Regions from separate parts of the Homo sapiens genome. Here all the other regions are linked to region 3. Evidence: promoter capture Hi-C in 16 types of primary human blood cells and fetal thymus (Javierre and others, 2016). All regions are on one chromosome and are shown on one strand. The core of a region is centred on a gene start or on the middle of the fragment in contact, and the rest is flanking DNA. Distances in the headings are between cores, read along the strand shown. Region 1 overlaps LINC01934 (long intergenic non-protein coding RNA 1934). Region 2 overlaps UBE2E3 (ubiquitin conjugating enzyme E2 E3). Region 3 holds the start of ITPRID2 (ITPR interacting domain containing 2). Region 4 has its middle 35 kb from the start of LINC01934. Region 5 has its middle 54 kb from the start of LINC01934. Region 6 overlaps UBE2E3 (ubiquitin conjugating enzyme E2 E3). Region 7 has its middle 15 kb from the start of LINC01934.

Region 1 (3,311 bases), core at 223-2,722, 710 kb after region 3:
ATATTGATAAATTTGGGCATATTAAAATTAAAAGACATTGTAAAGAAGATGACAGGCTACAAAATAGAAGATAGTTCCAATAGATATACTGAAGGGATTAGTATCAAGTATATAGAAAAAGTCATTTTGATCAGTAAAAAAAAAAAAAAATTAAAACGCAATGGAAAACTGGGAAAAAGATATAATATTTTAATCAAAATGAATATATTTGACAAATAAACAGATAAAGCTGATCAATCTTATGAAAAAACCTTGAAAATGAATATCAGATCACAATATCATTTTTCAAAGTATTTGGCAAAAATTAAGAAGTCTGACAATACCAAGTGTTAGAGAGTAAAGATAAATCAGTTTGTCAAAAATAATTTCTGGAGTTGTAAATCTTGTAGAGTTTAATATTTTGTACCATGGCCTTCCAAGGTATAAACACAGAGAAACAGTTGCATGTGTGCACAGAGACATGCATAAGAGAGTTCCTACATCACAGCCAAGAATAACAAAAGCTTCAAAAATTCCAAACGTCTATTGACAGGAAAATGGATAAATAAATTGTGGTATATATTCATTGTATATTGTAAAGTAATTGAAAACAAAAATTACAGATACAGCAATGTGGATAAATCTCAATAACAATGCTGAACAAAAAGGAGCAAAACCAAACAGACATAAACAATGTATTGTTTAAGTATATGTATTTTTGTTTATGTGTATGTGATGAAACTATCTTTAAAAAGAATAATATATACAAAATTTGGGATAGTGCTTATCTCTGAGGGGAGAGAAAGAGGTTAGAAAATAGTGTATAGATAAATACAAAATAGTGTATACATATAAATAATAGTGTATAGATAAATATAAATTCCAGTTCTTTGTCGGGGGTGGGGGTTGGAGGCTCATGGACATTTTTATATTATTAAAACAAATAAAAGATGGCCATGCTTAGTCAAATGACGATAGTGTATCCTGGACTAAGAATGATAATTAATCTAATTCCAGATATTGGGGGTCCAGAAAAGATGGCAGCTCCCTTTAAGAAGGTTAGTAGGTTATTTGTCTTTTTTACTGACTTTTCATGTTCCATTATGTGTTGTATTTGGTATCTTATGTGAGTCACTCCACAAGCCATTACTTCTTTTTATAATATATGTCAAAAGATAAAATTACACAGAATTTCTTTTTACATTTTACAAAATGTACTATGGTGAGGCCTACTTAGTTGGCAATAAACACTACTGCTGATCCCTTCAAAGATTCACCAAGCAACTGGGAAACTTGATGAGATGGCAGAAATAACAAACTTATTTTAAAAAGACAACTTGAAAAAGCCTATTTGCTTTTTCTTCCTGCCAATCACACTTATTTTGTGATATATTAGCTGCTGCACGTCCCATGTGCTCCATGTTTGTAGTAGTAAGTACTAATCGGATAGAGGAGAATAAAGTCTACTGTTCAATTTTAAAATATAAATGTAAATATTTGTTTTCAGATAGAGTCAGAAAATGTAAGGCACAAATAACTTTTTTAAAAGACTCAAAAAATCTTTTGAAATTCATTAATTTTCTAATTATTACTATCCACATTTAGGTTAAAACATTGTAGAAAAGCATGGCTTTTAGGTGTGTTATGCTTTGCACTTGATAATTTTAACTTTGAAATTCAAAATTGCTGTTGTGATCAAATTCATGTCAATTGAACAAAGAATATAGAATTCAGAGATGCAGTAAAATGTCAATGAAATATCATAGACGTACCAATGTAGAGAACATAGAAACATAAACCCATAAATTTGAACCAACCTTACAAAACCATTCAGAAATATGTAGCTAATGATTCACTCTACATAGTATGGTCTTGACTAATTCCAGAAATGAAAGAGCAGAAATGATCTCCCCGAGAACTTTAAGCAGGCTATGACAATAGATTTGGCATTTAATTATGATCTCCAAATTGGTAATATCAAATTCAGCCGAGGCCCATATGTGCATCTGTTTGCTCACATGGTTGCTCCCGTACACATGCTTCATGACTGATCAGATTTCAGCCAGAGAGTTTTCTAGTTCAGGAGGAGCTTGGAATTAGGTATAAAGAGTAGGAAAAGGAGCAAAGACCTATATATGTCATTCCCTTGCTTATGCAATAAATATTTTTCTTTATTCTCTGCGTGCCATGAACTGTGTCAGATGCTAAGGAGTAATGTCGGGCAAACATGGCAAGGCCTCTGTCCTCATGCAAGCAAGTGAATGGAGAAATGATTACAGAATGGTGTGTGTTTTGAGAAAGAAGCACCATGTGCTACAATACTTTCAGCAATCTGGACTTTAAGAATCCACAAACACATTCCCAAATCAAAGTATCCCCGTGAAAGAGGAAGCCGAACTTCGTGGAAGAACTCTCAGGGCTTGGTGCTTCTCAGAAACGGGAAGTCCTAAGAATGAAGCTTAAATGGTGGGCTGACAAGAGTTCACCCGAAGAGGCAGTGGTTAAAACATAAAGAAACTCCTAAAGCAGGTTAAGTAGTTTAGATTTCATCCCAGGGCTATGGGAATCTCTGCATGATCCAGAAGTGAAATGAACACATACTACGAAGATCACTCTAGTGGCTGTGTGAAGAATGGATTAAAAGGGAACAAGTTAGAGTGCAGGGAAACCAGTTAGAAAACTATTGCTGTAATCTGGGTAAGGGATGCTGGTCTGAACTAGGGTAATAGGGAGAAGCAGGAGATTCAAGTCCCTTAAAACGTAGTATGAACTGAACTGGGTGAGTTCAAAGAAAGGGGAGAATCAAGTTTTCTTGCTAAACTCTATGTGAGGCTTTAAGAATAAAATAAGGTTTTAGTTAGGACATGGAAGAGATGTTAACCTATGCTTAGCTTCTACTTACAAGGAATAGTGGGAAAAGATACTCTGCCTAAAACACTAATCTAGGATATGATAAAATAAAGATATTTAGATATTTCCCCATCCAGTATGTACATACATAATACATTTTACCTATAAACATCTAATTATATGCAATTCAAAAACAATTTATATTTAATACAACTCATGTGTTAACAAGACTGCATTCTGCAGACAGCTATTGGTTACGAGACTCTAGGAAAAATCTTTTTACAGTTTTTGTTGTGTTTTGGAGCACAATTATCGCATAATAGAAAGTAAGCTATAATATCAAAAATGCATTTGAATTTTTTTAGTTCAGAACTGGTCATCAGGAGTAGATAGATGCCTTCTATTTTGGAAAGGCACAGGAATGAGCCACATAATTTATACATTGACAGACCACTGGAAATGTTCTAGAACAGTGATTCCCA
Region 2 (3,493 bases), core at 615-3,114, 860 kb after region 3:
ATATATGCTACTGAAACATTGTAAGCTTGCTCTACATAATAAAATAGCCTCAAGGTATAGTAATACAGCAAAGATTATACAGCAATATATAAATAAAAAGTAATACAGCAAACACATTTCTACGTATCTTGTTTTTGACAACCAGAGGGAAAAAATGAAGATACAGAATATCTGAACCACATAATAAATGAACATGATTTAATGAAAACATAGCAAACCCTATATGTAACAATCAGAGAAGAGATATTTTTCTCAAGCACACTGGACATATGTATAAAATCTAACAATACATTAGGTCCAAAAGCAATTTTTAACAAATTTTTTAAAAAAATAGTATGAGAGGCCACAAAAATCAGTACTTAGAGGTAAATGTACAGCTTTAATGTTTGTATTACAGAAGAAAAGCTAAAAATTAAGAACCCAATCTAAAAAATTACAAAAAGAACAGCAAAATTAGCTCAAGTAAATAGAAAAGGTAACAAACGTAATAGTATAAACTAGTGAAACACAACACAAACACAAAATAGTGTCAATAAAAACTAAAATTTTTTTTAAATTTTTGGGTCAAGACTAATAAAACATAGAAACCTTGTGACAAGACAGAGAGAAGACAGAAATAACAGACATGAAAAAAATAAATGCTCTAATTCCTAGAAAAATTCAACCTACTAAAAAGAACAGACTAAGTGAATACTGGTTATACAATATAGAGATGGGACTTGTAGTTAATTTCCACCTTTTCCCCACCTTATCCCAAATACAAAACCACCAGGTCCACATAGTTTTACAGGAGACTTCTATCAAATTTCAAGTGAGATCATTCCACTCTTAAAACGCTTCTGAGAATCAAAAATAAAAAATAAAAAAATAATTTTTTTTCTCTGAGGCCAGTATTAAAAACAGGCTAATTAGGTGTAAGAAAAAAAGAAGCCAATCTCAAATCATGAACACACATGTAAGACTCTTAGTAACAAATCATATCCAAGACTGTTCATATTGAAAAAAGATAATATATATTGCCAAATTGGAAATGCAAAGTTAGTCTGACATTAGAAAAATATACACATTCTGAGATGAGATCGTGCCACTGCACTCCAGCCTGGGCGACAGAGCAAGACTCCGTCTCAAAAAATAAATAAATAAATAAATACAAAAGAAAAATATACATATTCAATTTATCATATTAATAGATTAAAGCAAAACCATATGATTATTACTTTAGTAGATAAAGTATTCATTAAAATTTAATGCCCAATGAAGAGTTTACATAAGGCCACCACCACCACCACCAAAGACAACCAAAATACTTTCATGGAAAAATAGAGGAGCCAGGTGTGGTGGCTCACACCTGTAATCGCAGCACTTTGGGAGGCCGAAGCAGGTGGATCATGAGGTCAAGGAATCAAGAAAATCCTGGCCAACATGATGAAACCTGGTCTCTACTAAAAATACAAAAATTAGCCAGGCATGGTGGCGGGCGCCTGTAGTCCCAGCTCGGGAGGCTGAGGAAGGGGAATCACTTGAACCCTGGAGGCAGAGGTTGCAATGAGCCGAGACTGCACCACTGCACCCCCACCTGGCGACAGAGAGAGACTCCGTCTCAAAAAAAAAAAAAAAAGGGACCGAATTAATTGATAAAGAATACCTTTTCAAACACCCACGCCAAACATCAATATTAAAGATGACAAGTTTATACCGCTCCATTTAAAACATGGAACAAGAAAAGAAGCTCAATTATGACTTGGTTGTCCTAGACAGTAAAGTAAGAAACAGAACTTAAAAAAAAAAAAAAAAAAAAGATTGTCTACAGATAAAAATCAAAGAATGTAATGTATAAGCAAATTATTAGAATTAAAAAGAACATTTATACAAGGTTGCTAGATAAAAAACAAGTTTTTAGATAAAACTTACAAAAGCATCAAAAATATTAAACTCCTAGAAATAAATTTAGCAAAAGATGTACAATACTTGAATACAGAAAATTACAAAGCAAAATCAGAATTAAAGAAATCCTAAATAAATGAGGGTGATACAGTATGTTTATGAAAAAGAAAATTCAACATTTTTAAGAATTCTACTTCTAATTTCTCAAATTCAATAAAATTCTAATTAAAACCACAAGAATACTTTTCCAAGGAATTTGATAAGCTGATTCTCATTTTATATGAATGCGTCAGGCAGCTCCTAATGAAAATACAGATACTTGTCCTACTAGATATCAAGACTCATTAGAATTATAGTAATTAAAACTATATCATGTACTATTTGTGCAGAGATAGACAACTTGATGAATAGAATGGAAGAGCCCAACACAGAACTAGGCAAAAAAAGAATCATGAAATGACAGATGGCACTCTAGCCACTGGACTATTCAATAAAGTTACTAAAACAAATAGTTATCCATATGGAGAAAAATGAAATTGGACTACTACCTTACCCTTTTCAAAGAATCAATTCCAAATAAATTTGGAACACTAAGGGCAAGCCTTTGAAAAAAAAATAAAGATATCCTCGAGACCTTGGGACAGAAAGTAATTTCTTAACCATGACACAAAAAGTGCTAATCATATAAGAGACTGATAAATTTAACTACCATTTAAATTCAGTTCTTTTCACTAATATACCATAAAAGAACCAAGTCATTAACAGAGAGAAGATTTTTGCAACATATATGTACAAAAGGCATCTGTATCCACAATACATAAGAACCCCTAATAAAACAAAATTGGGGGCAGGGGGACAAATAACAAAAAAAAGGCATTTCACAGAAATGAGAATGGAAGATAAACATAAAAAAATTGTTCAACCTCATTATTAGGAAATGCAAATTAAAACCATGATGAAATACTATTTTTATACCCATAGATTAGGAAAAATCAAGAAGTCTGAAGATTGTCAGAGTTGATAAACCTGCAGCGCAAAGAGAACTATTGCACTTTGCTGGTGGAAATGTGTATCAGTGTATCACCAATTTGGCATTATCTTGCATGGTTGAATATGCACGTTCTCTGTGAGACTCACCTATTCCACTCTTAGATATACAATGAAAGAATTTACTCACATATTACTAGAACACATGTTCAGTAATCTTCACAGTACGATTGTTCATAGTGACAAAAAACAAAATAAACATGGAACACCCAATATACCCTACTACAATGAATACAAGTATATCCACGTAATAAAATCGTATACAGCATGAAATTTAACTATAGCTACATGCCAAGACTCAAATAAATCTTAAAACAAGATTTAAGAGAAAAAAGTATAATTACATTATAATAATTACATTAATAGGTAATTACATTATGTAATGTATAGTGCTCAAAATTAAACAATATATGCCGTTTAGTAATACATTCAGAAACCATTATTTTTATAAGAAGTAAGGAAATGAATGAAAACATCTTAGAATAATGATCACATCTGGGTGAAGGGAAATAGAGTGACTGAATAGGGACAGACAACATATAGAGATTCAATGATACCATCT
Region 3 (3,852 bases), core at 1,147-3,646:
TGAATTTAAACAATAAAACATTATAAATGTATTTGTAATGCTAAGCCTATTTTAAGAAACCTAAAGTAAGCCAATACTGTACTTAGGACTGTATTTAAATAAAGAGTCAGATTGGAGGCTTTAAAGGACTTAAGTAAAAGTTACAAAACAACTTCTCAAACACATTTCTAAGTGGAAACCTGAAAGATACTAGTTTTATCAGATCTCACCCAAAAGGTCTTGAACATGTACATTCAAAATTTCAAGCTTTTACATTATAGACTATTTTAGTATTTAACAATTAAATGAACCAATAGCACATTAATACAATTTCTTGATCCATACTTTGAGTGAAGTATCTAATATCTAAGGCTTATCTGAAAACTGGGAGATTGATTTACAGCTAGATTGTAAATCTGGGGTCCAAGGACTTCAAGCAGTGTATTTGCCTCTGTGCATCTTTAAACAGAAGTTATTCCATATATGTCATCATATTTCAGAAGGGTCTATGACACTTCCAATAAAGGGTACGAGTTCTGTAATAAAGAGTGTTCAATAAGGTTCCAGTCGATTCATCAAAACAAGGCATTAATATCATGGTAGCCAATATCTTGTCTGTCTTTAGAGGAGGCAAACTGGCATATGAATCACTTTCCACAACAAAACAAAACAAACTACCCTAACTCTAATATTTGAACAAAATATTAAGAAAATCTAAATTGAGAAAGCAAAAATATGCTCGAAAGCAAACACCAACAAAAGTTTAAAGGCTACATTCCTGATTTTACAACTAGCAAAGTGGAATAAGAAACAAGTACATTTTGCTGTAGTCAGATTTACGTGCAACATGATTCATCTCCTCTGTATTTTATCAAACATTTTTGTACCAGTTGCCAAAGCATGTAATTAAACAGATTTATGCAGTCTGAATGCTTTTAAAAGTTCTATTCCCTGAGAATTCCAGTGCCATCTGACAATTCCATGTTCAAGAAGTAAACTATAAGTACAAAGTTAGCTAGTTTTAATAGCTCCCCAAACAGAAACAAAATTAAAGCCCATTTAGTGTAGTTAGGTAAATTAAACTCGTCTAAAACACATTTGAAAGGAAAATGATTCCGTGCCAGTTGTACAGATGCCAAAACTAAAGCAAAACAAAATATCCTGTTCGAGATGTGAGAATTCTTTCAAATAAAAACAGAACAAATATGGCATGATTATCTGTTCTGGATTTCTGATCTCTGATGCTAACACGATGCGTGAGTAGCTCAAGTCCTAACTGTAAAGTCAACACGGTCACCAAATAATCAGCGGTCACAGCACTTCCATTTCTAATCGCTTAGAGGAGGAAGCTATCCGCCGGCTCACTTTCCGGTTTGTAGCTTACAACGGTCGCGGGACCCACAGGGACGCGGCCCGAGTGGCTCTGCTCCGGCGTCCCGTCCGCACGGATCTCCCCCGGGACGCGGGCGGACCAGGGAGCACTCACCGGCAGTCCTTGAGCCATATCGCGATCTTCTCGTTGGGCACGTTTCCTGGGGGTAGAGAGAGGGGACAGCACGTTACCACCCAGGAGCACTACGACGGCGGAGTCACCCTGGACCCTCCCAAGTAGGAAAATCTACCACGGCAAATGCAGCCTAAGCGACACGTCTCAGTGTCCCTTGGCAGGGAAATCGGATGGCACCCAGTTGTCTGTGTTGACGCTGGGGGCGCCTCGTTCAGCGCGCGCGTTTGAAGGTCGGAAGTGTCCCCTCTCCCCTCGGCCTACCGTGCCCGAGGCTCTCCCAGAACTCGTGGCAGGCGCCCAGGGCGCACGAGACTCTCCCCAGCCCACCAGCCTCCCCCCGGAGCCCGGCCGGGAGCACCGACCTCTTCCCCCCGCTGCCGGCAGCTGCGCGCCGGGGAGGTCCTCCTCCTCGTCCTCCTCCTCGTCCTGCGTCGTCGCTTCTGTGGACAGATCCTCCGTCTCCGACGCTTGCCAGGAGCTGCGGCACTTGGCCCAGGCCTTCCTCCTGCGACTCGCCACTTGCCACTCCAGTTCCTCCTCCGCCTCCGCCGACGACGACAGGGGCCGGTCCATGGCCGCACTGGGGGCTCCGCTACCCCAGCCGGACCCTGCGCGAGACAAGGCGGCGGCAGGGACCCCCGCCCTTGCTGTCAGCGCCCGGCCGGGCAGGGGGCCCCGGGGAGCTGAAGCGGGCGCCGGAGGAGGAGGAGGAGGAGGAGGGGACAGGGAGGGAGGGAGGGAAGGAAGGGGAGGGAAGGGGCGGAGGGCCGGCGCTTCACATGAAGGCGGCCGGGCGCGCGCGGGAGCGCTAGTGGCCCGAGGGAGCGCGGCTGGGAGCCGAGCGCCCGCCCGGCCCCTGCTCCCCACCCCCTGCCTGACGCGCCCGGAGCAGGCCGGCCGCTGCGCGTCTGCGCGCCTTCCCTCGGCGGCGGCCCACGCCCCCTTCCGGCCGGGGCCGCGCGGGGCGCGGTAGGGCGGGGCGCGCCCGGCGCGACGCGGAGCAGGCCAGCCCCCGACTACTGCCCGCGGAATGGGCAAGATTAGTTTGTTAATAATCTTTCCTCCTCTCCTCCTCCTCCTCCCTCACCTAAAAATAGAACGTAAGTGGGGAGGCCAAGTCTCACAAAACATCCCCCGCGAGAAAACAAGTGTCTGCTTGGGCACCCTGAAACATACACTTGAAAGAGTCGCCTGAATATAGACTCTTTAGTGTCCAAGGAATTGGGGTAAGGACGGAAAGAGGTGCTTGATTGGTGTTGCCAAAATGTAAAAACTGCAAAAGACTAAGCTTCCTGGAGTGCTACTTTCATACTTAAAGTTATTTATCGTGTTTATGTTATGAATGAAAATGAATTGTGAAAGGATATTTAATCTGGAAATTTCACATTGAAGTTGGACTTTGGTGAGGGAGAATAGAGGAAACAATTGGGACAATGTGGAGATAGTTGCTTGGATTTTGGTGAGACAGCATGATACAAGAAACAAATGATGTCAGGGTTCAAAACTTTTTAAAGCCAGCTTTGGCATTCCGTTTTGTTATGTTTAAATTCTCATTAGCAAAAATACTCAAATTCTATCCAAAACCAGACACAATGTGACAGACCTATCAAGCAGCATTGTTCCCCTAAATGTTACATCTGAACTATACATATAAGTAAGGCTTCCAATATTTTATTGTACTTGGCTATGCTCTGAAGAACAAGTTAGAACACTTTTTAAAATCTTAACGTGATTGAAAAGAATATTTTGCGTAGACAAAATATTTTAAGGAAGGAATTATTTTTCATTTGAAATTAAAATCCAGAGCATAGTAAAATTCCTAATGGAAGCATTCGAATTACAAGGTAATTAAGTGCATTGTCATTGATAGCTACAGGAAACCATAACTTTTGGAGAATTTGGAATGAAGAATGCTCTGGAGATGAAATAGTGCCTAGTTTTTGTCCAGGCATTTACACATAAGTCATAGACTACTAAAATAGCACACTGATTTTCCTGCCTTCATTCTTTCCTATCTCCTTTCTAGCGCATTGCTCTAGATTTACAATTCCAAGACATCTTCTAATGGTTTACTAATATCCCCAAGATCAAATCCAAAATCCAGACTAGCTTTCCAGAACCATCATAATATTCTCCTGAGTCTCATCTATGTACTGCCAAATGTCAGGGGAGTTAGAACAGTGATATTAATATCTCTATGGCTTGAAATTTCACTACTAGAAAATCTTTTCTTTGAACCTATAAGACTTTCTCAGCCTTCAAGGGTCCTGTAGTAGGATGCAGCTAACAGTTTAATGGCTCTCCAAAATAGGTCAGAGTCTCGCTGCCTGTGTGGAAGATGAAAAAGAGAATGAATAAAGAAGGTA
Region 4 (3,596 bases), core at 633-3,132, 800 kb after region 3:
TGTCTTGGAGTTGCTCTTCTCAAGGAGTATCTTTGTGGCATTCTCTGTATTTCCTGAATTTGAATATTGGCCTGTCTTGCTAGGTTGAAGAAGTTTTCCTGGATAATATCCTGAAGTGTGTTTTCCAACTTGGTTCCATTATCCCCGTCACTTTCAGGTACACCAATCAAACGTAGGTTTGGTCTTTTCACATAGTCCCATATTTGTTGGAGGCTTTGTTCATTCCTTTTCATTCTTTTTTCTCTAATCTTATCTTCACACTTTATTTCATTAAGTTGGCCTTCAATCTCTGATATCCTTTCTTCTGCTTGTTTGATTTGGCTATTCATACTTGTGTATGTTTCACAAAGTTCTTGTGCTGTGTTTTTCAGCTCCATTGGGTCATTTGTGTTCTTCTCTAAATTGGTTATTCTAGTTGGCAATTCCTCTAACCTTTTATCAAGGTTCTTAGCTTCCCTGCATTGGGTTAAAACATGCTCCTTTAGCTCGGAGGAGTTTGTTATTACCCATCTTCTGAAGCCTACTTCTGTCAATTCATCAAACCCATTCTCCATACAGTTTTGTTCCCTCGCTGGTGAGGAGTTGTGATCCTTTGGAAGAGAAGAGTCATTCCGGTTTTTGAAATTTTCAGCCTTTTTGCGCTGGTTTTTCCTCATCTTCTTGGATTTATTTACCTTTGGTCTTTGCTGTTGGTGACCTTCAGATGAAGTTTTTGTGTTGTCGTCCTTTTTGTTGATGTTGATGCTATTGCTTTCTGTTTGTTAGTTTTCCTTCTAACAGTCAGGCCCCTCTTCTGCAGGTCTGCTGGAGTTTGCTGGGGGTCCACTCCAGACCCTGTTTGCCTGGGTATCACCAGCAGAGGCTGCAGAACAGCAAAGATTGCTGCCTGCTCCTTCCTCTGGAAGCTTCGTCCCAGAGGGGCACCCAGCAGATGCCAGCCAGAGCTCTCCTGTATGAGGTGTCTGTTGATCCCTGCTGGGAGATGTCTCCCAGTCAGGAGGCACGGGGGTCAGGGACCCACTTGAGGAGGCAGTCTGTCCCTTACCACAGCTAGAGCACTGTACTGGGAGATCCGCTGCTCTCTTCAGAGTCAGCAGGCAGGAATGTTTAAGTCTCCTGAAGCTGTGCCCACAGCCGCCCGTTCCCCCAGGTGCTCTGTCCCAGGGAAATGGGAATTTTATCTATAAGCCCCTGACTGGGGCTGCTGCCTTTCTTTCAGAGATGCCCTGCCCAGAGAGGAGGAATCTAGAGAGGCAGCCTGGCTACAGTGGCTTTGTGGCATTGTGGTGGGCTCCAAGTCCAAACTTCCAGGGAGCTTTGTTTACACTGTGAGGGGAAAACCACCTACTCAAGCCTCACTAATGGCAGATGTCCCTCCCTCCACCAAGCTTGAACGTCCCAGGTCTACTTCAGACTGCTGTGCTGCCAGTGAGAATTTTAAGCCAGTGGATCTTAGCCTGCTGGCCTCCGTGGGAGTGGGATCCACTGAGCAAGACCACTTGGCTCCCTGGCTTCAGCCCCCTTTCCAAGGGAGTGAACAGTTCTCTCTTGCTGGCATTCCAGATGCCACTGGGATATGAAAAAAAAATTCCTGCAGCTAGCTTGGTGTCTGCCCAAACAGCCACCCAGTTTTGTGCTTGAAACCCAGGGCCCTGGTGATGAAAGCACCTGATGGAATCTCCTGGTCTGTGTGTTGTGAAGATGTGGGAAAAGCATAGTATCTGGGCCAGAATGCACTGTTCCTCACACACAGTCCCTCATGGCTTCCCTTGGTTAGGGGAGGGAGTTCCCGATCCCTTGTGCTTCCTGGGTGAGGTGACGCCCCACCCTGCTTCTGCTTGCCCTCTGTGGGCTGCACCCACTGTCTAACCAGTCCCAATGAGATGAACCTGGTACCTCAGTTGGAAATGCAGAAATCATCCGCCTTCTGCATTGGTCTCACTGGGAGCTGCAGACCAGAGCTGTTCCTATTCTGACATCTTTCCCAGGATATCCAATCTGATTTCTTACTCCTTCTCAACACACATATTTTCCTACAACTATATTTAAGCACATAATCTACCAAATGCACTTTTTCATATCATGTTATTACTACCATCTTCTCCCATCTTCTGTTCCCCAATTCCTATAAAGGTTCAGCTCAATGGCCCCTTCTTCCAGGAAGCCTTCTTGATTATTCCAGCTTAGAGCTACCTCCTGGCCACCCTAATGTCTTTAGTATATATATATCACTAATTTGATTTCTTATCCCTATCTTTTCACATGTATACATTTTAGGGAAGGCGCTTGTAAATTTACTAAAAGTAACTGAAAACGTCATTGAGTTTCATTGCTTAATGTTATAGAGAAAAATGACAAGGAAGTTGCCTAAGCTTTTCCACTTTTTGGCTGTTTTATGCAGAATTATATATAATAATAAAATCTGGTTAATTTTCATTTCTTTGAGTTTTTAATAATTTTGTGGCACAATGCTTTGGCTAATGCTTGAAAATGGATCTTCACCATAAGCATGGGCTACAAAACATTTAATTTGGGGCAGATAAGACTCAGGCTCTACTAGTGTGTAGAGCATACCCATTGTGCTTATTTATCAAATGCTCAGTGAATTATCTCTTTACAAAGACTCCCGATTAGCACTATGTATAGTTTCCTAGGCACAACGTACTTTTGACTGACGGTTTTCAATCAACATTGCATCCCTTTACACACAGGGAATGAATCAAATTATTCTGTTGCTGTTTCTATAAATGTAAAAATGTAATTTTGGAGCCATAAAGCTGTCTCCACAAACACTTTGTCTTCTTTTTCTTGGTTACTTTTTGTTTCACATCACTTAAGAAATCAGAGTGACCATGGCGTGCTGTGCTCTGTATGGGACATATTTTTGCTTTATTTCATTGGTTGAGTATTGTATTGGAGTACCACTAAACAGCACTATAATAGTGCACTACTTGGGAGAAACATTATTTTTTTGGCTAACTCCATTAAAAATCACTGAAAATTACAAGTACAGAAATTTAAAAAAAGAATAAAGCTATGAAAATGGAACACCAGTGTTTTATGGCATATGAAATGCCCCTCTCACACAAAGCACATAAATGTTTAACCAGCAAGAGGCATCCTTTTAGGAGGCTGTCACTATAGCAGGTATGCTATAGTGGCTGTTACCAAATAAAATGCAGTGGTTGTTACCGAATAAAAATGATGACTTTCTTTTTTGTGTGCCCCATCTCAGGATGTGGAGAAGAAAAATGAACAACAGATGGCTGTAGAGAAACTATTTCTATGGACCTGTTCTTGTCTATTACTCTGGGAGAAATAACTCTGCTGTTGAAAAGCACTATATGGCCACATGGCCACAATCCACATCTTGACCAGTTGTTTCAACCTGTCCACATCTTGACCAGTTGTTTCAACCATTTGTATGCATAAAGATGATATTGGACATTTAGTAAAATGCACATTCCTGGGCCACTTTGCAATAATTTCTTTTAGAGATTTGGAGCAGAGCCCAGGTGCCTGGATACTAACTATCAACTAAAATGATGTGTTCTTGGACCACACTTTAAGAAACACTGCTTTGGATCTTGTACAAC
Region 5 (3,314 bases), core at 156-2,655, 820 kb after region 3:
AAGGTAAGCAGAAAAAAAGGTGTGAGCCTTGGTCATAAGCTGTGACTGCCTTATGGATTTTCTGGAAATGAAATCTGATCTTCAAATTCCGTACTTCCTGAGTGAGGTACAATCCAAAGGGAGAGAAGGCTTGTAACTGAGTCTTGCCACGGGACCAATGGTGGAAGTGAGGGTCACAGAAATTGGTCACTATGTCCTTCTCTGACCACCACATCCATAAAATAGAACAGGGAAGAATACTCAGTTTTCTAGAGTCATTTTTCCTCTAGCAAACTCAGGGACGTCATCTGCCACACCATCCACTGAGGCTTTTCCAAAGCTCTGTGTAACTCACCTTGGACACCCCTCTTCCTGACTAGACCATGATGACCTCTTTGGGAAACACAGCGTAACTATTTTTGTGTCCAGCATTTAAAGCAGTATTAACTTTCAGCAAATAATTGAATTTCTCTAGTTAAAATTGGTGTCAAGGTAGATTCTTCAATGACTTCAGGAAAATCACTTGAATGAAACAAAAATTAAGGTGCTAAAGATTCAAACAACTGCTAAACCATACCTGATGAAAAAGAGGAGCCATTCGAGCTGATATGGATGTTTTAATTGCATGTTCATTAACATGTTAACTATGAAATAAACGAAAGGCTCATCCAGATAGACAACTCAATCATTCATTTTTACACTTGACCACAAACGACTAGTTACTCTGCTGGACATTAATGGGTCACACAGATGTATGAACTGTCGTCTCCCCATTCTCACTTTCAGCCAATAACATCTCGTTTCATGGAGGAGTAGAAGCTACCAAAGAACTTCCTACGAACCACATCTACCCTCCAATCTCACCTATGCCCATGTCCTCTGCAAATTCACAACAAGGGCCAAACACCTCACTTGTACTAGATCCTATCCCCTCTTGCTTATCTAGGGGAACTCAAGAATTTGGTGAATGACAATGCTGCTGTAAGTGCTGGATGCTGCACTTCCCAAAGAGCTTCTGCTCTAGTCAGGGAGAAAGACAGATGTCCAAGGTAGTGCAGAACTTTGAAAACACCCTGAATAAATTATGTAGCAGATAACTTTTTCAAGGACACTGCTCCTCCTCCCCTACACCATCCACTTCCTCCTCTCTAATCTTTCCTATCAATATACAAACATGCTGTAATTTCTCCCATCTTAAAGAAACTCCAACTACTCCCTACTTCTCTATTTCACTGCAAAATTGTCAGGAGTCTCCAAGTTCTCTATTCCTTGTTACTTTATTCAATCAAGCTTTAATTTCATTGCTCCAACAAAATTGCATATAAAAGTCACCAGTGTCTAGGACTCCTGAGTTGCTAATGGCTATTTAGGTCCTTATTTTATTTGGCTTATCAGTAGTCTCTCATGGGGTAGATCATTCCCACCTCCTTGAAACTTTTTACTTCCCTTTCAGGTTATCACACTCTCCTGATTTTCCTTTCACTTCTTGAGCGTTCCTTCCTGGATTACTTTGCTGACTCATCTCTCCTCAGCCTCCTAATGCTGGGAGTGCCTAAGCTTCTTTCTTCTCTAGCAGCACTCATTCCCTTGAGTGAGTGATCATAGGTCTCACAGCTATAAATACCAACTACACACTCACGTGTCACAAATATACATCCCTGGCCCAGAACTCTTGAATTCCAAATTTGTATATCCAATCTTGCACTTCCATTTGGATGTTTAATAGGCATTTCAAACTTAACCTGTCAAAAACTAAGCTCATAATCTTTCTCCCTATCCTGCTTCACCCTCGAGTTTTTCACCTTGGTTAATGACAACTACAGCCTACTAGTTTGCTCAGGCCCTAAACTCTAACTCCTTTTTCACACCACATATTCAATCTATCAGCAAATCTTCTTAGCTCTATTTTTAACCAGAACCTGACCTTTTCTTACTACTTACACTGCCACCACCCAGGTTGAAGTCACTGGTATCTCTCACCTGGATTACTGCATTAGCCTCCTAACTGGTCCCCCTGCTCCCAATTCCTTAGCCCCACAGCAAGTTTTTCTCTGACTGATCAGATTCTAATAAATCATGTCCTGTTGCTCGTTGGCTAAAAACAGCTTCCAGTGGTGTCCCATCTTATTTAGAATACTAGCCAAACTCCTTAAAATGAAATACAAGACCCTATGTGATCTGCCCACCTGTCATCTTCTTGACCTGGCCTCCTATTCCTCTCCTAGTTGCTCACCTGCTCCAGCCCTCCTAAGCACTTGCTACCTTTTGAATGCATTGGGCATGCTCTTGTTACAAGATTTTTTCAGTTGGTATTCCCTCCGCCTGTAGGACTCTTTTCCTATGTGGCTTATTCCTCACCATCTTCAGCTCTTGACTCATTTTTTAGGTGAGGTCTTCCCCGACTACCCTTGTTATAACTGTAATTCAACCTCCCCTTTCTTTCTCCCTCACTGCACACACTATTTCCCTTCCCTACTTTGTTTTTCTCCATAACACTTACCATCTAACATACATATATGTGTGTGAGAATGTGTGCGTACGCACACACACACACACACATATATATATACACTTTTAAATTTTTTTGGTCTGTCTCCTAGCAATTGAAAGTAAACTCCATAAGGGTAGGAATTTTCGTGTATTTTATTCACTGCTAATCCTAAGCACCCAAACCAATATTCCAGTGTACACAACTAATAACTTACTGAATGAAATAAATTGGATCCCTTATTTCTAGGGGCTCATAATTGAGATGATATACATACACAAGTAAAACATTATATATGTCCTTAAAAAAAAATAACCATGGAAGAAAAAACATGGTGTCTCATGCATATTTAAAATGATCTTCACCATTTGAGAGTTCTGTGACCACAGCAAGAGTTTAGCAGAGGGCTAAAAAGTGCTCTTCAAACGATGATAAAGGAATCAGGTAAGGGGTGCCAGTGAAAGCCCTACAGTGTTATCCCCTCATACTCTTTATCTCATAAATTAATACTCTTCTTCATCACTTTGTAGATGAAAACTTGAAATGCTCATATGAAGACCTAACTACCCCAATCTCAATCACTAGAGAATCCCTGACTTTCCTTACAGACCTGGGCCCCTAGCTGTCAGGACTTAGTACCACACACCTCTCGGCAACCCATTCCTTCACAGATTTACCTTTTCCTTCTCTTGGACTAAGGTGGGAGCAGCCAACATATCTGAGTTTGCTAAGCTAACTTAAGAAATACTCATGGTGTGAGACAAAATAGAAGTTGTTGAAATTATACTTCTGAAACTAGGGTGCTTCTTACCCAGTTACCTTTCAATTCAACCTACTGGCAAAGAAA
Region 6 (3,775 bases), core at 1,072-3,571, 840 kb after region 3:
TGTGCTTTGTCTATCTTAAGGCCTATTATGACAGTCATCATCCAAACGCAGTCAAGTCTATTGTGTATAATCATAAGAAACACTTTGTAAGAGAAGAATTCTGGTACAGGTATTTTTATTGCAAAGTACTGTACACTTATATAAATGTAGATGAAAACATTTCTACAAGTACAACCATACACAAGGTGAAATAATTTAAAAAACACACACAAACACACATCCAAGTCCAGTCAGTTAAACAACATTGTGAATAACTACTATGGACCAGGCACTGGGATGCCAGGATAAACTGTGGGTGTGGTGAAATTAAATATCAACATCTATAAGTATATTGTCTTTAGCCAATACTGTGGTCACAATTTCACACTTAAATCCCTTGTTTTTTATATTCACATTCATTGTGGTGTATAATATCCAACTTAGCTAAAATACCTACACTCAAAAAGCTGCTCTGTCCAGCAGATCCTTGACTTCTCTGCTAATGGTGACATAAAGAATATCTTTATCCTCTGAAGCTTCTTTACTCCCTCAGCTGAAATCTCCAGAAATCTCAACCCATCACCCTTTCTTCTCCTAGTTGCCGCTATTCTCTCAGCTGAGTTCTACTGCCCAAGAGAGGGAGAAAAGGTAATCTTAGCAATGAGTTGTTCATTTTAACAACCTTATCAAGGCGGCTGGGGCTCAGGAAAATCCTTAGGATGCAGAACAAATTTAATTATATGAAGTACATCAAATGCTAAATGGGCATGTGTGAAGTAGGCGGAGAACACAGGTAGCTTCTGTAATATTTTTCTAAAGTAAAGCCAAACCTCTATATTGCTTTCCAAACTTCAAAAACTGTTTATAAGTGAACAGTTGTTATTCCTGAGTGTTTTAGAAAGAATCATATTTATTTAGGTTGAAAGCAATTAGGAGTTCACAATTAGGGAAAGCTATAATACAGACAATTAGGGTGAGAGGAGTGGCTGGGGAAATAACGTAGAAAAATAATTCTACTAACTAAAAGGGCAGACCTAGGTATGTGCTAGTGGTTCCCATGATTTTATCTTCCTACTCCTCTTCCCAAGAATGACCTCGTTTTGGTAAATGTGTGAATTCTTATGTAATCTCTATAACAACCAACCAGGAAATGGTATTGCTTATTAATCCATACTGTGCCTTGTGAACCTATGAATTTACTTTGAATCAAAAAAAGTATTTAAGCTTTAACAATATACAAAATACAGTACTTGTTAGATTCAATAAAGAAAACAAATTCATTCATTCATTAAGGAGTTATTGAGTGTCTACGATTTGGGGCTAGGAATCTGTACAAGAAACTAAATATACAATGGAGATTTCAGCCAAGCTGAGGATATAGATCTTAATCAAATAAACTCACAAAAAAACATAAAACAGAAAACGCTACAAAGGCAAGGTATTCCTTGTTGAATGCCGGGGAAATGTTAGAGAGATAAGGGAAGAGTCAGAGGAAGCAATATTTAAAAGATTATTTCAAATACCCCAGTGGGGGTTTATCAGTAGAAGCTGAAAGGAAAGGGCTGGGAAAGAGGACTTCAAAGCATAGGAAAATGCCCTGAGGCCATCAGGAACAAGTAGCAGGGCCTGGAAGCACAATGTGGCAGAAGGGAAGAGAACATGGGAAGTACAATGAAACGACCTAATGAGGGAAGCTGTAACAAACGTCTAGGCAGGACCTTGTAAGACTACATGAAGGAGACTTGTCTTTATATTAAAAGAAATAGGCAGCTATCAAAAGATTTTAAGCAACAAAGGGGGAGTGTTAAACTAATATGGACATTTTGCAAGGCCTCCTCAGGCTGCTCTGTGGAAAATGGTCTGGAGGAGGCCCGGAGGGGCTGTGGGTGGACCACTGCAGTAATCTGGGTGAAAGATGATGATAGGCTAGACTAATATGGTACCAGAGACAAAGAAGAGGGACTTGAGAGTTATTTAGGAGGAAAAAAACAAAACAAAACAAAAATCAACCAGACTTACGTTTTGAAATAGGACAAGTGAGGAAAAGGAGGGTTTCGAGAATAGCTTATAGTTTTCAGACTGCTATGACTGAGATAATGTATATGCCATTAACTAAGATATGGATGTTGAAAAAAAAGTTGGTTTTGGATACACTGGGACTAAGAAGTTTATGAGATATCCAAAAGATAAGTATGTCAAAGAGACAGACAAGTAAGATAAAGGGGCCTGGTCCTATAGATATAAATTTGTGAGACCTTGATACACAGGTCCTTAATGTCCTGCAGGTGGGATGAGCCAGGCTAGGTAAAGAGTACAGAGTAAGAAGGCGAGATGATACCTGAGATGAGACCACCACACCTAAGTCCCAATAATACATGTCAGACCTCTAACAGGTGTTTAACAGAGGGACAAAAAAGCAAATGGAAACAAAGCAGAGGAGAGATTAATTACATGAAGAGATATGGAAAGAAGCTGGGTTTGAAAAGTGTGTTAGAAACTAAAGACGTCATCTAGTCATGTGGTGATCATGCCAATAAACTACAAAAACTACCTGCATGTGTATGCTGGCAATATGAACTAACTCTTTCTGTAAAAATACAGAAGGAAATGCTAATACTGGTTACCTCTAAAAAGGATGTGGTGCTCTGTAGTGAAAAGGAAACCTAGTTTTCACTTATACTCTTTCTACTCTGAATAGTTTTCTGTGTAATTTTTAATTTGAAAAATAAGAGGGACAGGGGCCCAATAAGTCAAAACTGGGGCTATGGCTGAAGCACTAAGAGTGCTGTAAAGGCACTACAGAATAAAATCTAAACCATAAAGGATTTTAGGTAGGCAGAGTAATTTCTATGATATGCTTTCTTATCAAACCCCAAACTGGAGAACTCTGACAACAGAGATTTTCTAATTCTGAAAAATCAGATTAATAAGAGCTTTTAGAAATCTTGGCTAAGATTACTTAACCCTTCTTAGGTCTCTTCCCTCCCCCATTCTTTGCACACTGTACAGTTTAAGGGCTCATCCAAAACTGAAGCCATTTCGCCAATATATTGTAAATCTGAATTACAACTTAACCATATGTGACAGATCATCTTGTTTTCATTTTCTGCCTTTAAGACAGGCTATGATTAGGTAAAATACAACTAACAGTTGATAAATGTGTCAAGCTCTAGCCCAGTTTATCATGAGGCTTAAACTAAACACAGACTCTAACAGCACCTGTTTGTCCATTAGTTTTTTTCTGTATGTTTTGCAGTTTGATATACGAGGGCAGGTATGGAAATGTATCTTCTGCTAGCAAGTATTTGTGTTTTGTGCTACATTTTTGTTCAGAACCTTAATGCCTACACGGAATCCCTGACCTGCGAAAGACTCAAAATTCAATAAATCTATTTCCTGCTTATCTGTGGCTTTATGGAAGATCTTTTTCCTTGGTGGACAATGTAATTACAAAGCTTCATACTATAGCTGGCACTTATGTGGGGTACTCAGTGTTACTGATTCACTCTTCTAACATTTACTGATTATCTACCATGTGCCAGGCACTAGTGGGTACTGAAAATACAGTGATGAACAGAAGAACATACAAGGTCCTTGCCCTCACAGTGATTATGCAAATACTGAACAACACAAAATTATCCACATAAAATAATGCTGGATAGATACAAAGTCACTTATATAAGCAGACTATATTCCAAAAAGAGTGTAGGAAAAATAGTACTTAACAAATTGATTGTTGTCTTTTTTTTTTCTGTCCCAACATATCCAAGGGTATGTGTATATTCCCATCAGTTAA
Region 7 (3,809 bases), core at 447-2,946, 780 kb after region 3:
TTAAAGCCACACTAACAGATGTCAAAAAAAAAAACAGGAGATATGGATGTCACTTTTAAAGCATCTCAGAAATGAAATCATCTGCGGAGGCAGTCTTAAGGGCCCAATGAGCAAAGGTACCTTGTCTATGATTGTCATAAGGTTACACAGCACTGGCGCCTTAAATTCTTTCAAACCTGTGAGGGGAAGTATCCCTGTGTGGAGGACTTGACTTCACAGGAGGACAGAAGCCAGTTGAGATCCTGTGATTCAAAATGATGCATTTGCCAGGTGTGGTGGCTTACACCTGTAATCCCAGCATTTTGGGAGGCCAAGGTGGGAGTATCACCTAAGCTCAGGAATTTGAGACCAGCCTGGCAACCATAGTGAGAATTCATCTCTACAAAAATCTTAAAAAATTAGCCAGGCATGGTGGTGCGCATCAGTAGCCCCAGCTAGTTGAGAGGTTAATATGGGAGGATAGCTTAAGCATGGGAAGCTGCAGTGCGCTTTGATCACGCCAATGCACTCCAGCCTGGATGACAGAGCAAAATTCTGTCTCAAGCAAAAACAAAAACCAATGCATTTGAGGAGGTCACCATTCCCTCAATATTACTCTTATTGACTTCCGACCACATGGTGTCTTCATTTCCTTGTGTTGGATTACAAAAACTGAGAGGAAGATAACAGAAAGATGATTGAAGTACATAAAGCCACTACAGATAAACTTCATTTTCTCACAATCTTGTCTGGGACTTCTCTTGATTATGAAGACATAACTCTGTAGATAAAAATGTAAACAGCCTTTCTCCATTAAGATTACCTCCTTTTTTTCTCATATTTAAGGTCCAATAAATTAAATGTATTTTGAAAAAAACTGGCATATATAAAAACATTTTACTAGCTGGATTTGTATCTACTTATTGACTTTCACTGTAATTTTAGGATTCAAAAAATATAAATCCTAAAAGTTAATTTAAATATCACCTGTGAGAATATGAGTGTTTACCTCTACATGCTTGGGATGAGAAAATCTTGCCTTTAGCCACTGCATCACCATCAGTATCCCATTGCTACTTCTAGAGTCTAGAATCTAGACCACTCATCTTTCTCTAAGCTTTGAGTGCCATATTATCATACATTATCACCACTCCTCTCCCTGTGGATCATCAACCAACTATTGGGTCATTTCCCATCATTGTTTGAATAATCATTCCCAACCAGCTCTGAAAACCCCATATCCTAAATTAGATTTCAGATGTTATCCAATCCTTTTTAACAAGTCTTCCTTCCTCTTTTAATAAAACTTGATGATATCTACTTATTTCAGCTCCTCCACAAAAGCATTCCATAATCCTTCTAGCCCAGTGATTTTCAAACTTCACTTTGGATCACTTGGGCACTTCAATAAAATGCAGACTTTGATTCAGTATATCTGGATGGAGCCTAAAATTATTTATTTCTGAAGCTCTTAGGTGATGCCAATGCTCCTGGTTCTCAGACAAACGTGGAGGAACAAAGTTCTAGCCTACCATGGTATCAACTTACTCTAAATTCATATAAGGCAGGCAGGCACCATATATGATTTATTCATCTTTGTATCTCCAGTGAGTCAGAATGCTTGACATATCACAATGCTCAATAAATATAAATGTTTGCTAAATAAATTGATGGACTGAATGAATAAATGTGTAACATTCTCTCTGACACTTAGAAAATTCTACTTAAGACAGATTGTTTTTTCTTTTTTTGAGACAGAGTCTCGCTCTGTCACCCAGACTGGAGTGCAGTGGCATAATCTCTGCTCATAGTAACCTCCCCTTCCCCGGTTCAAGAGATTCTCCATGTCTCAGCCATCAGAGTGGCTGAGGTTATAGGTGTGTGCCACCACACCCGGCTAATTTTTGTATTTTTAGTAGAGACAGGGTTTTGCCATGTTGGCCAGGCTAGTCTCTAATTCCTGAGCTCAAGTGATTCACCTACCTCAGCCTCCCACAGTGCTGGGATTACAGGCATCAGCCACCACATCCAGCCCAGACAGAATATTTTTATATGCACTTTTTCTTTGAAATGTAGTTGAGGGCAGGTATGCTCTACATTTCTCTGTATCTTTAAAGGCCGGTATGTGCCGTTTGTGCCCACAGAAAATAGGCACTCAATATAAATATTGACTAAACAATCAATTAATAAAAGGATTGATGGGATTGATTGAATAAGTAACTGGAAAAGAAGGGGCATCAGGTATAGTCTGCACTTGAGGTACCTAGAAGGTATGAATCATTTAACAAGGTGGCTGTACTTACAGACAGAAAGCTTCAAGTCCAGCATAGGCAGAGCTAGAGAGCAGAAATACTAAAATGAGTAACCAGGAAAAATGCATTTTGTAGACACAGACACACTCTAACGAGAAAATTACTTCAGTTAGTTAAAATGCCAAGCCAGTGGTTGATATGCTTGGGAATAAAACCAAGCATTATTGCATGGGTAGGCAGATGGTGCTTTTTTTTTCCTTAATTCAAAGCTTCATTTTTGTAAATAACAATGGAAATTGAACAACTGGCGAATATTAAGCTTTACAGACTATGTTAAGAGTTTTCAGAAGTGAATTTCCTCAACAATTTCTGCCTTTGGCATATTTAAATGTATACTGACTTGTGGTATTATTCATTCAATATTTCACATCTATGTGTTATCTTCACAACTGGGCTGTAGCCACCCAGAAATAGGGACTTTATTCATGCACATGGTGGGCACACAGTGATACCTGCTGAAAAAATAAAAAATTAGAAAAACTTGGATGACACACAACTCTAGTTTCTGGTATTGAGCAGAGACGAGCAAGGGTGGGCCTGGAAGTGAAATCTGAGGCATGTTACTTGAGTGAATTATCAGACTGGAGAAGAAAACTCCATGTACATTAGATATGAACTTCTTTCTTTCTTTTTTTTCCCATTATATTCTCAGAAGATGAACTAACGTAGAATTCTGGCAATGACTGGTTCTTTAAAAATAGCATATCATGTAAATAAATGAAAACTATAGTGCCCCTGAAGTTTTCAGAATCATTTCACCAAACATTGATTTTGCCACCAAATTACAAGTAAGCCAGATGCAAATAATTTATCAGTAGGAGCAATAAGAGAGATTATGTTATGACTATATTTTATTTGTCAGAAAAGTAACTAAGGTGTTGACTCTGAGATAGGGAATACACACACACACACACACACACACACACACATACATATATATATAGGTTTAGAAAACTATATGGTTCAAAATATGCCTATGATGCTCCTGATTCATATTTTAATGTATTAACTATTCCATAATTACTTAGAAAATTATGCTTCGATTCTGGTTAAAGATGGATTCTGCAAGAACATAGAAGCTTCTCATGCATACAGTATTTAAAATAGAATGAAATTAGCAATCTGTATCTTGAAATTATACATAACATTTAGCTTCATTTAAAATTAGAGTGCTAGAAGAAGCAGATTTCCATGGCATTTTCATTATGCAGAGAGGTAAACAGCAAATAAATAAGCCATACATGAATATGAAATTAACAGCATGATAATTGCTTTACTCCTAGAGTGTGTACAATATTAAATCCTCAAATAAACACTTACTTAACCTCATTCTCACGTGTGCCTATTGCTATCATCAAAAGCAGTATACCTAGAACTCAAACTAAGTCAAATTCCACGATGAGGTACAAAATCCTCAGAAATCATTGCCATGCCCTGGAAATTTCAGAGTGATTTCTTAGGAGTTCTAGTGCTGGTGGTATATTTGAAAACCAGTGAACACAAGAGAAAATTTAGAAA

Evidence for each region. The method cuts DNA at HindIII sites, captures the fragments that hold promoters and counts their contacts. A CHiCAGO score of 5 or more calls a contact.
Region 1: a contact is called between a fragment that was not itself captured here and the fragment with the promoter of ITPRID2 in region 3, in 1 of 17 cell types (total B cells). The highest score is 7.4, in total B cells.
Region 2: a contact is called between a fragment that was not itself captured here and the fragment with the promoter of ITPRID2 in region 3, in 2 of 17 cell types (total B cells and total CD4 T cells). The highest score is 6.6, in total B cells.
Region 4: a contact is called between a fragment that was not itself captured here and the fragment with the promoter of ITPRID2 in region 3, in 4 of 17 cell types (non-activated CD4 T cells, activated CD4 T cells, total CD4 T cells and 1 more). The highest score is 6.8, in non-activated CD4 T cells.
Region 5: a contact is called between a fragment that was not itself captured here and the fragment with the promoter of ITPRID2 in region 3, in 10 of 17 cell types (naive CD4 T cells, total CD8 T cells, total CD4 T cells and 7 more). The highest score is 9.5, in naive CD4 T cells.
Region 6: a fragment that was not itself captured here is called in contact with the fragment with the promoter of ITPRID2 in region 3 in 4 of 17 cell types (naive CD8 T cells, total CD8 T cells, naive CD4 T cells and 1 more); the score reaches 7.1 in naive CD8 T cells.
Region 7: a contact is called between a fragment that was not itself captured here and the fragment with the promoter of ITPRID2 in region 3, in 1 of 17 cell types (naive CD4 T cells). The highest score is 5.0, in naive CD4 T cells.

Annotation. Positions count from the first base shown.
Region 1 is chr2:181,184,728-181,188,038 of GRCh38, reverse strand. All of the region lies in intron 1 of LINC01934 (long intergenic non-protein coding RNA 1934), which reads right to left. Among named protein-coding and RNA genes, the nearest start is that of LINC01934, 63 kb to the right of the region's middle. The HindIII fragment of the contact is 1,934 bases long and covers 506-2,439 here.
Region 2 is chr2:181,027,965-181,031,457 of GRCh38, reverse strand. All of the region lies in intron 3 of UBE2E3 (ubiquitin conjugating enzyme E2 E3), which reads right to left. Among named protein-coding and RNA genes, the nearest start is that of UBE2E3-DT, 49 kb to the right of the region's middle. The HindIII fragment of the contact is 3,673 bases long and covers 28-3,493 here.
Region 3 is chr2:181,890,274-181,894,125 of GRCh38, reverse strand. It overlaps ITPRID2 (ITPR interacting domain containing 2), which reads right to left and starts at 2,396. Exons shown (of 18, transcript NM_001130445.3): 1 at 1,849-2,396; 2 at 1,466-1,511. The coding sequence starts at 2,059. RefSeq lists silencers at 1,760-1,899, 2,190-2,519. The HindIII fragment of the contact is 2,528 bases long and covers 249-2,776 here.
Region 4 is chr2:181,087,316-181,090,911 of GRCh38, reverse strand. No RefSeq gene overlaps it. Among named protein-coding and RNA genes, the nearest start is that of LINC01934, 35 kb to the left of the region's middle. The HindIII fragment of the contact is 984 bases long and covers 1,391-2,374 here.
Region 5 is chr2:181,068,484-181,071,797 of GRCh38, reverse strand. No RefSeq gene overlaps it. Among named protein-coding and RNA genes, the nearest start is that of LINC01934, 54 kb to the left of the region's middle. The HindIII fragment of the contact is 267 bases long and covers 1,272-1,538 here.
Region 6 is chr2:181,045,835-181,049,609 of GRCh38, reverse strand. The region is part of intron 3 of UBE2E3 (ubiquitin conjugating enzyme E2 E3); the gene reads right to left. Among named protein-coding and RNA genes, the nearest start is that of UBE2E3-DT, 67 kb to the right of the region's middle. The HindIII fragment of the contact is 2,231 bases long and covers 1,206-3,436 here.
Region 7 is chr2:181,107,403-181,111,211 of GRCh38, reverse strand. No RefSeq gene overlaps it. Among named protein-coding and RNA genes, the nearest start is that of LINC01934, 15 kb to the left of the region's middle. RefSeq lists an enhancer at 3,736-3,809. The HindIII fragment of the contact is 1,196 bases long and covers 1,099-2,294 here.